Regions from separate parts of the Homo sapiens genome. Here all the other regions are linked to region 2. The links are contacts of gene promoters, found by promoter capture Hi-C in human tissues and cell types (Jung and others, 2019). All regions are on one chromosome and are shown on one strand. The core of a region is centred on a gene start or on the middle of the fragment in contact, and the rest is flanking DNA. Distances in the headings are between cores, read along the strand shown.

The links. The method cuts DNA at HindIII sites, captures the fragments that hold promoters and counts their contacts. A contact is called where the count stands out against the background at its distance.
Region 1: the fragment with the promoter of NPBWR2 here is called in contact with the fragment with the promoter of PCMTD2 in region 2 in 3 of the 25 tissues and cell types used here (IMR-90 fibroblasts, dorsolateral prefrontal cortex and lymphoblastoid cells).
Region 3: the fragment with the promoter of SOX18 here is called in contact with the fragment with the promoter of PCMTD2 in region 2 in 2 of the 25 tissues and cell types used here (heart left ventricle and mesendoderm cells).

The regions. Positions count from the first base shown.
Region 1 is chr20:64,105,587-64,110,606 of GRCh38, forward strand. It overlaps NPBWR2 (neuropeptides B and W receptor 2), which reads right to left and starts at 1,979. Exons shown (of 2, transcript NM_005286.4): 1 at 1,778-1,979; 2 at 1-1,336. The coding sequence starts at 1,245. The coding sequence ends at 244. RefSeq lists an enhancer at 1,527-2,027 and a silencer at 4,011-4,194. The HindIII fragment of the contact is 24,186 bases long and covers 1-5,020 here.
Region 2 is chr20:64,252,349-64,257,131 of GRCh38, forward strand. It overlaps PCMTD2 (protein-L-isoaspartate (D-aspartate) O-methyltransferase domain containing 2), which reads left to right and starts at 3,400. Exons shown (of 6, transcript NM_018257.3): 1 at 3,400-3,522. The HindIII fragment of the contact is 11,329 bases long and covers 1-4,783 here.
Region 3 is chr20:64,046,394-64,051,307 of GRCh38, forward strand. It overlaps SOX18 (SRY-box transcription factor 18), which reads right to left and starts at 3,246. Exons shown (of 2, transcript NM_018419.3): 1 at 2,766-3,246; 2 at 1,189-2,569. The coding sequence starts at 3,123. The coding sequence ends at 1,773. RefSeq lists enhancers at 1-45, 3,117-3,798, a silencer at 2,936-2,985 and promoters at 3,123-4,231, 3,126-4,023, 3,126-3,386. The HindIII fragment of the contact is 20,169 bases long and covers 1-4,914 here.

The sequences.
Region 1 (5,020 bases), core at 729-3,228, 150 kb before region 2:
GGGGGTGATGGTGGGCGTGATGGTGGGGGTGGGGGTGATGGGGGTGGGCGTGATGGTGGATGTGATGGGGGTGGGCATGATGATGGGCGTGATGATGGGGGTGGTGGTGGGGGTGATGGTGGGGGTGGTGGTGGGGGTGGGGGGGGGTGGGCCTGATGGGGGTGTGGGCATGATGATGATGGGCGTGATGATGATGGGGGGTGATGATGGGCATGATGATGGGGGTGATGGTGCCCAGGCCCTTCAGCACCGCAATATGCTGCGGAAGTTCTTCCGGAAGTTGTCATCTAGAAAGGCGTAGAGGAAGGGGTTCAGGCACGAGTTGGCGTAGCTGAGGCTGGTGATGACGTAGGACATACTGATGACCAGTGGGGTCTGGGGCAGGTCCGTGGTCAGGGCCACGACAGAGGCCAGGTGGAAGGGCGTCCAGCAGAGGAGGCACACGGCCAGCACGACGAGGACCAGGACGGTCACCTTCCGCCTGGCCTTGCCTAGAGCCTTGGCTCCAGAGCGGAGCCGCACGGCCCGCAGCCTGCGCAGGAGGTCTGTGTAGAGCACACAGATGGTGCACACGGGCAGCACGAAGCCCAGGACCAACGTGTAGACACGGCTGGCCTTGAACCAGACCTGCTCGGGCCACGGGAAGCTCAGCCCACAGCTTGGGACCTGCAGCTCGTTGCTGTAGACGCCAGCGAAAGAGAAGAAGGGCAGAACCAGGACCGTGACGCCCAGCCAGACACACAGGCTGGCGACCTTCGCCCCCCGGTAGGTGCGCCAGGGCATGTGGCGGGACCTCACGGTGGCCAGCACCACCAGGTATCGGTCCACGCTCATCACGGCTAGGAAGTAGATGCTGGAGAAGATGTTGTAGTGGTCGACGGCCAGCACCAGCTTGCAGAGCAGCTCCCCGAAGGGCCAGTACTGCAGCAGGTGCTCCGCGATGTTGACGGGCAGTACCAGCGTGAAGAGCCCGTCGGCGACGGCCAGGTTCAGGATGAACACGTTGGTCACCGTCTTCATCTTGGGCGCCCTTAGGATTACAAGGATGACGGCCGTGTTGCCAGTCAGCCCCACAGCACAGATCCCGGAGTACACGGCGGGCAGGAGCACATAGAGGAACGGCAGTGGCTCGGAGAAGGTGGCATTGTGGCCAGTGCCATTGTCCTGAGAGACGTTGGCACCCATCGTGGGGAGGGAGAAGGAGCCCCTGCTGTCAAGGGGCTCTGGGTGCCCAGCGGCCTGCATTGTAGCTGGGACCGTTGACGATTTGCGCCCTGGGCAGGTGGGAGGTGCCTTGGAGTTGGGTATCTGGTTGGGGGCCTCCTTGGGCTGGATTCTAGGAAAGAAAAACAACCAGAGACTTTGAGATCCGGCCGTCTGTTAGGGCACAGCCACTCCAGGTTCTCTGGCAGAGACTGCGGCCACTTTGCCAGGTCAAGGACATGGGGCCAGAGGGAGCCTGGTGGGGTGTGTGGGGGCCTCCTCCCGCCTCTTCCTGGTGAGACTTCAGCAGATCAGTTCCCTCCTCCCGCAGAGAGCAGCTGCTGGCCACCCTCCTGGGAAGAGATGTGGATCCGTCCCTGCCCCAGCAACCCGCAGATGCACGGGCTGCGTAGAATCAAGCGGTCCCTTTGGAAACACACCTCCCAAGCTCATCTCTGGCTCCCTTGAATCTGAAGGTCCTTCCCTCAGGGGTCTTGGAGTCTGCACCCTCCCTCACACCCTCCCGAGAGATGCTGCAGACCCTGCTGGTCCAGCTACTCTTCTCTCCACTGACCTGTCCAGTGCTTCGAGTCCAGAAGTTGGTAGCCTTGGTGTGTTCCTGGTTTTGGCCAGTACAGGCAGTCGCAGGGATGGAGGGCGAGGTGTGGTCCTCACTGACAGACCTCCAGCTGAGGTTTCAGGAGTTTCAAGACCTGCCCTGCTGGCTGCCTCAGCCCCGGCTGCGAGGTTCCCAGCCTGGTGTCAGTGCTGATGCTGGTGAGGGAGGGAGGCGGATCCCCCTTGCTGACGTGGAGCCCGGAAGGCAGGCCCCACCTTCCCCTGAGCTGCAGTAGCGCCTGCAGTCGGCTGTCCCAGGGTCTCCTCAGCATTCACTTACCCAGGCAGACTCCTCAGTGGGCGGCTGAGGCACGTGTGCGCCTGTGTGTCAGGAAGGGACTCCATGCAGGGGCCTCTGGGTGTGCCCAGGTCTTCGGGCAGAGGGCACTGAAGGCATCTGTGCCTCTGTCCGGGAGTCACTGTGGGCCTGGGCACCCTTATCTGTGAACATGGGTGTCTTGGTGGGTCTCCTGCCCCACCCTGTGTGTGTACATGGTGTGTTCCTGTGTGTGTGTGCCAGTTAGGACATGTACGTGTGTGGGCCTGTGTCTGCCTGTATGGGGGTCTCTGTGGGTGAGCTCTGCGTTGTATCTGAGTGGGTCTACATGTCCTTGGCTGAGTGTGGGCATCTGGGGGGTCTGTATGCCCTCATGTGGAAGCAGAACTTGTTGGCCATAGGCAACCCACCTTCTTTTTTTGTCTTTTGCTAAAAGAGGAACTCAGCCTAGGCAAGCTGTGAAAGGCTGCAGAGAAGACGTTCTCACGCTGACACGTAACTCTCCCGCCGTCCTGCAGAGGTGGTGAGCATCACACTCTGCTCTGGGTTGGTCTTTAAGTCCTTCCCTTCTCCCTGCTTTTCTTCCTTGCTGGACGCACCCTGGCTTATCCAACCCGTGTGTGTGCAGCTCGGCCGCATCTGGACCTGCTTTGCAGGCAACGCCACAGCTGACACGAGCAGTCGCCAGTCTCAGAGCCGCTCCTCAGCGGAGACGTGTTGGGTCAGAGGGTCTGTGTTTTCTTTCCTTTCTTCTTTTTTGAGACAGGGTCTTGCCCTGTCACCCAGGCTGGGGTGCAGTGGCACTATCATGGCTCACTGCAGCCCTGACCTCCCTGGGCTCAGGTGATCCTCCCACCTCAGCCTCTCAAGTAGCTGGGACTACAGGCATGTGCCACCATGCCTGGCTAATTTTTGTGTTTTTTTTTGTAGAGACGGGGTTTCACCATGTTGCCCAGGCTGGTCTCGATCTCCTGAGCTTCAGCCTCTACCTCAGCCTCCCAAAGTGCTCAGGTTATAGCCATGACCCACCGTGCCTGGTCACTGTGTGTTTTCAGTCTGGGGAGATGTGTCTGCCCATCGAGACTGTGCCCGCTGCCTGTGGGGTTGCAAGGATGTCACCGCACACTCATGGTCGGCCTTCTTTCCTGAGAGTTGCTCTGTCAAGTCTATTGGTTAGGACAGGAGCCTGGGCAGTCGCCCTGAGTACCCTGATGTCGCCAGCCTGAGGGTACACTGTGGGTGGGCCCCGAGCTACCCTTCTATGGGCTGTGCCATGTGGATGTTGAGTCCGGGGTCAGGGAACCCTGCTGAGATATCTCACACTCCTCTTCAGCCAGTTTGGGGATGGCGGTGGGGGGGATCTGTGGGTGTGTCTCGAGGGAGCGTGGGGCTTGTAGCCACAGTTTGTCACATAAGTGGAGCTTGACGCCCACAAGGTCAGGGGATGGTGATTAGCAGCCGTGAGGAGAGGGTGCATTGGGGCTGAATTTTGTGATTTGGGGTGTTCGTGGGGTCGGGAGGGGTCAGTTCACAGCTCCTGGAAACCAGAGGCGTGACACAGAGAGGCCAGGCCTGGCATGTGGTGGCCCAGGCATTGACCAGGGTGTGGGCTGGGCCAGGCGGTCACTGGTCTTGGCTGGGGAGCGGCCGACCATGGCCTCAGCACCGGGCACTGGGAGAATGTCCCAGGCCTGCTGTCACCGAGCTGCTGTCCTGGGGTGGGGCTGGCCACGCTGGCCTGATTCTGGGCCTCCCTGGGGGCCTGCTGTCACCGAGCTGCTGTCCTGGGGTGGGGCTGGCCACACTGCCTGACTCTGGGCCTCCCTGGGGGCATTGCTGGGGGCCTCTCCCTTCCATGCATTTTGGGAGGGGCCCAGGCTAGTGCCGGTGCCTTCCTCTGCCCCCCAGGGCTGGCTGGCAGCCTGCCCAGTGACCCCCGTGTGGCCTGAGCTCTGGGCACCCCTGCTGGTCTTTGCCCTGCAGGATACCGACTGCCACCCACACCTTCTTCAGAGCAGGGTGTTCCAGGAGGGTCTTCCCTTAAGCCTCAGTAGTGGGGAGCCCAGTGTCAGAGGCATCCCTCAGAGCACAGAATCTTCCCATGCAAAGATCCCACTGTGTGTCTGGCTTCCTCTGAAGCCAACCACGAGTCTGGGTCCTCTTCCCTCCACCGGTATCTGGTGAGTCTGGGAATCGGAGCCCCTCCCAGACTCTAGCTCTGCTCTCCTGAGCCTGTCCTGAAGGCTGGTCTGGCACCACCGCCCGCCGGTCACATTGGAGGTGGGGTGCGCATGATGGAAGGGATGGGGACCCTGAGGGCAGTGGGGATGGGGGAGACTGCCAGGTGCTGAGCTCAGGACCCCGGGGAGGCCGGCTGGAGGTGTCAGGTCCTCCTGGCCACAAAAGCAGCAGCCCCAGGGGCCTTTTCCTCCTCCCAGAAGCACCTCACCGATGCCCGCTGCAACACCAGGGCCTGAGCCGGGGGTGCTCCCCCGTCTGTACCCCCAGCACTCAGGGCTCAGAAAGGCCCTTTGCTCTGTTCGTGGGCTGGGCATTGTTCCAGCCAGCTGTGAGCTTGTGAGAGCATCGTTCTGTGGAAATGGTTTCCATTTTCAGAAATAAATTGGCCTTTTCAAATGAACCTGTGAGGCCCTTTGGGTGAAGAGAGGAGAGGCCAGGGAGGGAGGGAGCCGTGGTCAGCTCTGTTGGGCAGAACGGTGGTGGGGGCCTGACAGCAAGGCCACTGACATGGCACATCCTCTGTCTGGGGTGTGGGGTGAGGGAGTGATGGGTGCCAGTCAGTGTGCATCTGAGCATTTTGTGGGGCTGCGTGTGGGGGTCTTGCAGGGACCTGAAGGAGACCCCTAGGGCAGGGGCCAGGGAGAAGCGCCAGGACCCTGGGACAGCCTGAGCAACACACAA
Region 2 (4,783 bases), core at 2,150-4,649:
TCCTGACCTCGTGATCCGCCCGCCTCGGCCTCCCAAAGTGCTGGGATGACAGGTGTGAGCCACTGTGCTCAGCCAGCTGGGTGAGAATTTTTAACACGAATGGGTATGGAGTTGCAGTTAGGCATGATGAAAAAAATGTGGAGCTGGATAGTAGTGAGGTTGCACAATAGTGTAAATGTACTTCATGTACACTTAAAAATGGTTCAAATGATAAATGTTTTGTATACTTTACCATAGTAAGAATAGTGTATTTCGAAGACAACAACACAACCTCCCACATGTGGCTCTAGCTACTTGCTCCCCAGATACCCAGCCGCACCCCTGCCTCAGGCCCTTGCATGACCTTCCCTCCGTCCGAGGCTCCTCCTGCAGATACAACACAGATGAGTGGAGAGATGCAAGGGGATAGGCGAGGGGACACTGAAGACATACTCAGAAAGCTCCCCGTGGCTGGGTGTGGGAGAAGCCTGGAGGAGGGTGACAGCAGCAGTTGGATTCCCATCCACCTTCCTGTGCTTACTACTAGCTGGTAAGTACAAGAAGCCAGCGAACCTCTTGCAGTTTCAGTTCCCTCATCTGTAAAATGGAGGTATCAGTGTCGTCAAGCCAAAGGCTGCCAGGAACCTGCCTGTAATTGAATGAGTTGGGATTATCACTCATTGCAGCGAGAGGGATGCAGATCATGGAGAACTGCAAGGCATCTCAGTAAGAGGTGTCGGGAAAAGTTACTAAAGGTTATGGGCTTGAGTTGGGTGATTTTTTTCATGGATTAGATGCTGTCAGGAATTGGGGGAGTGGATGGGGGGAAAGGGTGGTTCTCTGGGCATCTCAGTAGATGTTATCTGTGAGGAGGCCAGGGCAGAGGGAGGCTCAGCTGTAGCTGGTAGAGGAGCGGGGGTCATTGTTACTAACTTGGAGATGATATGTCTTAGATTTTGTGGGTGGCACAGTTACCCTGTTTTTGTTTGTGCTTAGACAAAATTATGACGTGGCCTTGGATCATGATGGTGCTCCTCTACAAAATTATTTATGTCCAACAGGAGACCCCATGGCCTCGATCTGAGTGCCAGGCCAGCTCCTGATGTCACGGTCCACTTTTCTTCTTGGAGGTCATACTAGTACCTATTTCATGGAAATAACCCATGTAGAGTGCTCAGTATATACCCTGTGAAGGGTTATGAATGCTGATGGTAGTGGAAGCTGATGTGGAGGGGAATGGTGGAGACACCTTGGAAAACCAAGCAAGAGTCTGAAGTTGTGGCAGGCCGGGTCTCACTAACGCAGGCCTCCATTACAGCTGTCCCAGCACGGACTGAGTAGCCAGGTTAAACATTAAAAGCTGATTGAGCCAATGCCCTTATACAAAGGTTGGAATGTAACAAAGAGCCCACCAAGAGTTTTGCCTAGGCTCTTCCTGGGCCTTGAAGCATGACAAGATAACGAAGGAACTCTTAACAGGACCCTTTTTAGGATTAAACAAGTTGTATTAGGGATCTGAAGAAACTCCCCAGGCCTCCACAAACAAGTTTATGGGGGTCTAAAGGAATTCCCCATATCATTATGATTTAGCAGGAGACAAGATAAGGGTAATCACCCCAGCACCTAGACCCATTTAGATTAAGTAAACTTACTGAGGCTCCAGAAGAGGGTCTTCAGGACTCAACCTTAGTCATAGATTAAAAGAAGTTAATCACTTATGTCTGTAGATGAATGCACACTTACATGTAGACATACAGCTTAGAAGGTATACGAGCTTTGGAAAACTTTGTAATTTTGAGTTGGTATGGTGATAATTTCCAGGCCTTCTCCTTGTAACCGGTTACAGAAATAAAACCTCTCTTACTCTCCAGCTCATTTGCATCTTGTTATTGGGCCAGGAGAAGTAGTAGCCCGACCCTCAGTTGGGTCCAGGAACAAAGGGAGTGTCTGAAGACAGCAGTGATGTGATCACCTGTTTTAGGAGGACCACTCGCCAGAGCCCAGGGGAATGGTGGGAGGGGTGGGGAGAGGTGAGGGGAGCTGGGACAGGGCAAGGAGGGATGTATGGAGGACGTGTCCCCTGGCAGTAGGAAGAGAGTCAAGGATGACTCCAGGGCTTCTGTAATTTGAAACAGTCACAAATAACCACAAGCTCTCAGGTGGAAGGACACTGAGAGCCCCATGAAGGTCATGAGGTGGTGGGCCACCTCAGGTCCGTGGATCCAGGACCATGGATCAACAAGAGAAGTGAGGTCTCCCTGGGACCACATAACGTGGTGAAGGCACCGGCCTTTGGTTTTCAAACTCTGCTCCTAAGTGGAGCTCCAGGGTCTGGGGAGGAATGCCGAGTTAGGAGGGAGGCGGGAACCGGAGACCCAGGCCCACTCGTCCGCCCCAGCGACGCTGGCACTTGCACATATGAGGCGGCTTGCATGGCTGTGCTTGAAGAAAGGGTTCTGCAGCTACAGCCTATCTGCAAAGCCCCACGCGAAGTTTGGGCAATGGGCTGTGTGAACCCAGAAAATGGGAGACAGGTCTCAGTTAATTTACAAAGTTTATTTTGCCAAGGGTGAGGACGCGCCCGTGACACAGCCTCAGGAAGTCCTGACATGTGCCCAAGGTGGTCGGGGCACAGCTTGGTTTTATACATTTAGGGAGACAGGATACATCCATCGATACATGTAAGAAGCACATCGGTTCGGTCTGGAAAGACGGGACAACTTGAAGCAAAGGCAGGAAGACTCCAAGCGGGGAGGGAGCGTCCAGGCCACAGATAGGTGAGACACCAACGGTTAAATTCTTTTGAGTTTCTCATTTGCCTTTTCAAAGGAGGCAAATCAGATATGTATCTATCTAAGTGAGCAGAGGAGTGACTTTGAATGGAATGGGAAGCAGGCCTGCCCTAAGCAGTTTCCTGCTGGAGTTTTCCTTAGTGATCTTGGGGGCCCAGGATATCTTCCTTTCACAGCTGATTTCACAAAGCCGGCTGGGTAGGAGGGCCCCAGGGCCGGGTGGCCGTCCGCGTGGCAGGGCGGGGGTCCCAGGGCGGCTGTGCTTGGTGCTGGGAGGCCGCCCGAGGGCAGCGCCGGCCCCGAGTCAGCAGCCGCAGGGCACCCTGGAGATGCGGAACGCCCCCAGCCGTGGGTCAGCAAAGGCGTCTCAGGTGACCCTTAGGGAGGGCTTCTGAGGCAGCCCGTGCGGGGTCCGTCCTGGCTGAGCACTGCGCGGACGGCGCGCCCGCGAGACTCGGACCCGGCCTAGGGCTCAGCGAGCTCTCAGCGGGGCGGGCGGACGCAGGCAGCCCAGGGGAGTGGGGCCCGCCCTGCGCCGCCATCACCCCTTTAAGTGCCAGGCCCGCGGCGCATGCGCAGTCAGGCCGTTGTGCGCAGGCGCAGAGGCGGCGGCGGCGGCGGCGGCGGCGGATGTTTACGGCGGCCGAGGTTGGAGCGGCGCTGCTCGGCCGCGGACACACGAGGGACGCGCCCGAGGAGCTGCAGGTGGCAGCCCAGGCGGTCCGAACCCGTCGGCCGGCCGAGCCTGGAGGTAGAGCCGCCGCCGCCGCCGCCGCCCCTCGGTCCGGCCTGCGGCGAGCGGGTGGTGTGTCCCCTCGGCCCCTTCCCTCCTCCTTCCCCACCCCCGGCACCCCTGCGCCCGGAGCTCTCCTCTGGGGGCGTCGCTCCTCCCCACCTCGGGCACCCTCACCTCCCCCCAGCGGCCTCCAGGGCGTCCCGCGTTTCTCTCTCCGAGCGCTCGCGGTTTCCCGTCGGTCTCTCCCGGTGCCCGTTGCTCACTCACACTCTTGGGTCTGGTTAGTCCAGACCTGCAGCTTGTCTTTGACTTCCCAAGTGGGAAACGTTTGCAGTTCCAAGGCAAGCCAAGAGCTAAGGTTTAGAACAAAGTCTGCCTTGGACCCTTTCAGAAGATGACAGGATTTTTTAAAAAAATAATTGCGCCCCCCCGCCCCGTGCCTTGGAGATAGTAAGAATTGGAGCAGAGCACTGGGACTTCAATTCACGCATGGAAAGAGATCTTTGTTAGTTGGAGGAAGGAGAACTTGCCTGAGCTTCGGGCCTTTGTTTTGTTTTTGTGAGAGGGACGTGTCTCCTAAATGAATGTTTGCTCCAGCGTTGCACCTCAAATAAGTCACCTAAATATCCACGCCCTCTTTATCCACCCCCTCTTTACTCGTGTGACTAGAATAGTTTTCATTTTTCTTCTCAAGGGAATGGCTAAACAGCTCCTATCTGGGCGTTTGATAGACTGTCATTCAAGAATGAGTGAAGTTGAGGTGCCTATAAGCAACTCAGAAATTGTTGTGGCCACGCTTGGGGGAAATAGAGCCCTACACTCAGGTGATGAGAGGAGACCTCAGAGGTGACCGATCCAGGGCCTTGCTCCCTGCGCCACCCCAGCTCGTACCTCCAGTGGAACTTGGCTGGGCTTATCAAGAGCTCCTTTCATTCATTGCAACTTCATTTGTTAGAAAGCTTCTCTGTGTATTTAGTAGGCATTGTCTCCAACATGTACCACTGGTCTGGCTTTTGTTAGGCCCATTAATAGTGTACATGTGACAGCCTTTCAAGTATAGGTGCTCCCCGGCTTACGGTGGGGTCGCATCCCAGTAAACACATCGTTAAACCTGAAGTCGAACCATCCGAAGTCGGAGACCATCTGTATTTGAAAAAAGTCCCTTTGCATTGCTTGTAAGAGTTCTGGTTTTCAAGGTGAGAAATCTGTTTGTGTGTTTGTTTGATCATTCTGCCCAAAGGAGATGTGGCTTTGGGTCCTTTTCCCCACTCATCTT
Region 3 (4,914 bases), core at 1,996-4,495, 210 kb before region 2:
GCTCCCCCGTACCTGGGAGGCTGAGCCGCGAGTGAGTTTCCACACCAGGGCAGTAAAGGTTCAGCTCTCCCCACCGACTCCCCACCTATGCAGAGGGGGTGCTGGGGCAGGATATGCCCTTCCCCCAGGAGGGAGGTGCATGCCCCTCCTCTTGGCTTATACCTGCCAGGCCCTAGGGAGTGTGTCTGTGTCTGGGTGTTCACTTTTGGGGGTGATTACTCCAAACTTCCCTGAACACGTGGGTTTGAGGTCGAGAGGACCAAGAGGTCAGCATGGAAAGACGGTGTCCAGGCCGGGCGCTGGGCTCACACCTGTAATCCCAGCACTTTGGGAGGCCGAGGCGGGCGGATCACGAGGTCAGGAGATCGAGACCATCCTGGCTAACACGGTGAAACCCCGTCTCTACTAAAAATACAAATTAGCCACGTGTGGTGGTGGGCGCCTGTAGTCCTAGCTACTCAGGAGGCTGAGCAGAATGGTGTGAACCCAGCAGGTGGAGCTTGCTGTGAACCGAGATTGCTCCACTGCACTCCAGCCTGGGTGACACAGCGAGACTCCGTCTCAAAAAAAAAAAAGAGAGAGAAAGAAAAAGAAAGAGGGTGTCCAGTCCTCCTGGGGGCTAGTGAGATACGACTCCAGAGTTGGGGGGTCTTGGGATGTGAAGCCTGTGCTCTCCTGCCTTGGCCATCGGACCTGTCTCTGGGCAGAGCTGGACAGGTCACCCGGGTGGGGGGAGCGCTGTGGGTGTAGCATGGTGCTGTCCTCCCTGGGGTGAGTTAGAACAGCTGACGGAGACCCTGGAGTCTGTGTCTGCATGTGGGCTGCCAACCTGCCAGCCTCCCTCAGGAAAGGGGGCCGTACTGGGCAGTCCTTGGGCATGGAAGTTTTAAGGTGGAGGCAAGGGCGATGAAACCCTAGCGGGGGTGTGACAGGATTGCTGGTATAGTCTGACCTCCGATAGGCTTGAGTTAACCTGGGGGTGGGACAGGAGGGGAGTGGAGGGCTGGGGGGGAGTGTGGACCCATGCCTGCTACCCACGCTCTCTGGGATGTGTCACGGAAGGATGAAGGAGTGCTATGAGGTTCAAGCTAGGAGTCAGGCTCCCTGGGGGCGATTCGGAGGGAAGGGGCGTCCAGGGCTATTTGGGGAACTGCTTTTCCCTCCCTGCAAACACCACAGATGTCAGTGTGCAGAGGAAAGGCCCGAGGATTTATTGTGGCCTCTCCGTCCGGGGACCCAGCTCCAGGCTCCTCCTTTATAGAAAGCAAACATCTGTATTCCTCACATTGCAAAAGTCTTTGCCACAGTGACGCTTCTGATCACTGAAACTTCTTGGAAGAAAAGTTTAAGAGTTTAATTAAAAATTAAATATATTGTATTAGGTATATTTTTTAAAAGGGCAAAGTAAAAAATATTAATACAATCTGGTTGTAGAAAATACACTGCAAGAAAAGGAGCAGGTGCTTCAAAAATGTAACCCTGGCAACTCTGCCAACAGGTCCTGGGCTCGGGCTTCCTGGAAAAGCCCCGGGACACGTGGGAACTCCAGGCACCCTCGCAGGGGCCCCCCGAGGGCAGGTGGCCCAGAAGCCCAGGAAGGGTGGCCTGGGAGGTGGAACGGGCGCAAGGCCGAGCATCACTGGCTCCTAGGGGGCTGTGACATGGAACCAAACATACACGCGTATGAGAGAGCAGAGCGGCAGCGACGCGGTCGGATCGGTCGCGGGGGCTGCGGGAGGAAGCGCTGCAGGGACCCGGGCGGCGCCGGCGGCCTAGCCGGAGATGCACGCGCTGTAATAGACCGCGCTGCTGGCGTCCGACAGCGCGGAGATCAGGCTGCTCTCCTCTGGGCAGGACATGGCGCGCGGGCCCAGTTTGGCCAGTGCCACGTGGTACGGGAGCCCGGGGGCGTCGGGCCGAGTCCGGCTGCAGTTGAGGTACTGGTCGAACTCGGTGAGGTCCACGTCGGCCCACAGATCGGCGGCGGGCCCCAGCGGCTCGGCGCTCTCCAGCGGCGGGGCCTCGGGCGGCGGCGACAGCGGGCCGGGGTACGGGCCGGGCGTGCCCAGGGTGCCGTAGTACAGGCCAGCGAGCGGCGCCGCGGGGGGCGCGGTCCTGAGCGCCTCCGCCAGGGGAGCCCCGTAGCAACCGCCGGGGTCCCGCGACAACTCGGTGGGCGCGTAGGGCGCGCGGAAGGGCCGCAGCGCGCAGTCCTCGGGCGCCGCGGGCGGTGGGAAGAAGGCAGCCTCGCCGGGCTCCAGGCCGTCCAGAGGCGAGCGCTCGGGCGTGGGCAGCCCCAGGCCGTCGAACTCGGCGCCCAGCGGGGGCAGCTCGCGGAAGGCGCGAGCCGAGCCAGACGCCGCGGGGAAAGGCTCGGGCGGTGGCTGCGGGGGCGCTAATCCCGGGAGCAGGAGGCCGGGCTCCAGCCGCCGGGCCTTGCGCGCCTGCTTCTTGCGGCGCGGCCGGTACTTGTAGTTGGGGTGGTCGCGCAAGTGCTGCACGCGCAGCCGTTCGGCTTCCTCCACGAAGGGCCGCTTCTCCGCCGCGTTCAGCTCCTTCCACGCTTTGCCTGCGGGCCGTGGGCGCCAGTGAGTGGAACGCCGTCGGGCGGGTGGGCGCCGAGCCCTCCGTGCGCCCGGGACGCCCCGCGAGGGTTTGGCGCAGCCCCCGCACCCCGCGGCCCGGGACCCCTGCCCCCCCCGCCCCACCCCGGCCCGAGCCCCCCCCGCCCTCTCCCCCTTCTCTGCCGCCCTCCCGCCGCTCACCCAGCATCTTGCTGAGCACCGCGTTGTGCAGGTCCGGGTTCTGCTGAGCCAGCCGCTTGCGCTCGTCCTTTGCCCACACCATGAAGGCGTTCATGGGCCGCCGGATGCGCGACTCGTCTGCCGCCTGGCGTTCCCCGCGGCCGGCCGGGCTGAGGCCATAGCGCCCCGGCTCGGGGCTGCGCGGGGGACTGCGCTGCGGGCTGGGCGGCGAGGCGGGCGCGGCGGGCGCGGCGAGGGCGGCGGGGCCGGCGGCGAGGCCGCGCGTGTCAGCGGCGGCCCCGTGTCCCGGGGCCCATGCACAGTCGCGGCGGGCGGGCGGGTCGTCCTGTGCGCCGTAGCCGGGCGGCGATCTCTGCATTCCAGCTGGGCGCGGCCTGGGCGGAACGGAGCGCGGGAGCGCGGCGGGCGGGCGGCGGGCACTGGGGAGCCGGGCGCAAGGGCAGGCCAGGCCGGGAGGGCGGATGGCGGTGGGGACGGCGGTGGCCTCGGGCCGGGCGGGCGCCCAGATATAGCGGCTCAGGGCCAATCGGCGGCGGGGCGGGCGGGCGGGGGCGGGTCGGGGCCGCCTCCTCCCCGGGGGCTCCCTTTCTTCTCAGGCCGGGCGGGATTCCGCTGAGGCCTCCCCCGCGCACAGCCCCCCCACCTCCCCCGCGACCTCTCAGAAGGAGAGACCCCCCGGGTGGGAAAGAAAGGGCTGCTGATGAGGGCCGGTGCTGCCAGACTTTCGGAGGCGAGCTGCCACCCACCCACGGAGTCGGACCCCCGGGCAGTAACTGGGGGAGGGCGGCAGTGTCCCGCTGGTTGCCGTTCCCCGCCCCCCGCTGGGAGGCTCCATGGGGAGGAGAGGGCCCTTTTTCACACCAAGTTCTGGGGAGGCTGCCTTCCCAACAGCCGGTAAGTCCTTCCTGGAGTGCAGCGCCTTCAGAAAAGGCCCCGTCTTTGGGGAGGCGCTCTGAGTCCCCAGGGGCGCCCATGCTGGAAACTCTACACCCATGTGTAACCGTCAGCACCAGGGACTTTGAGTGCCTTTATGGGACAAGATGGTCTTCTGTCCTCACTCCCAAACCAACTCTGGCACAAGGCAAAGCTGACACAGGGAGGGAGAGAGCAGAGGCCCTGGACGGAGCCCACAAAGAGAAGGGGGAGCAGGGACGCAGAGGCTGTGGCGTCCTCCCTGCCCCCCAAGGGCCCTTGGGGAAGGGGCTGGGACCCTCAGTGGCTTGCTGGCTCCCCTGCCCAGCCCAGGCCACCGCTGCAGCAAGAGGCAGGGCCTACCTGGGTCCTTCCCACTGGCCCCTCCCTGGACCCTCTGACCTGGGCGGGGGCGGGTTCCGGAGGAGCGTCCAGCTTCCTGAATTTTCACTGTCCCCTTCCTACTCCATCAGGAGGGGATCTGGGCTCCAGAGCTGAGGGTCTCCCTCTGGAGGTCCTCCCCTCCCACTGCCACGCATGGTTCTACTGGAGAAGGGTTGGGTGTCCCCAGCAGCCCTCCAGGCAGGGTCAGAATCTCGCCACCTCGCGGCACATCTCCTCATAGCCTGGAGGCTCCCCAGCTCCCCCCGCCACACTATGCCGGGAGCCCCATGGGTAGAGGCCACAGGTCTTGTGACCCTGAGCCTGTGTGGCCAGAAGCTCTTGGTTCTCTGTCCCTGCCAGCCTCGCTAGGCCACATCCAGCCTGTGTTATGAATGGGGTGGGCCCCACGTGGGCCTTGCAGTGCCCCTTAGAGGCTGTTCCTGAACTGTCCCCAGGGGCACTCCTGCCCTGAGGCCAGCACCCCCACAGGGGCACTCCCACCGAGGGCTGTCGCGGTCGGTGTCCAGCCCTCCCCAAAGCCCCACATCACAGTCTGTCTCGACGCCCATCGTCCCAGCATACGGGGCTGGGTCTCCCAGTCTGGTCTCCAGATCTCCCGTCCCTCCAGTTTGCCCCACGGGCCTAGCACCTCGTTCACAGACACTGAGCCAGTGCTGGCTAATGGGGGGCCCGTGGGGCACCAGGAGGTGCGGCCCCTGGCTTTTCTGGGGAGGCAGGCAGGGTTGTGGCCACAGGGATGGAGGGGCTCACAGGCCTCTGCCGGATGCTGCTAGTCCTCCTTTAATCTCAGTATGGGTGGCTGGACCCTTGGCCGAGTCTCAGTGTGGGTGGG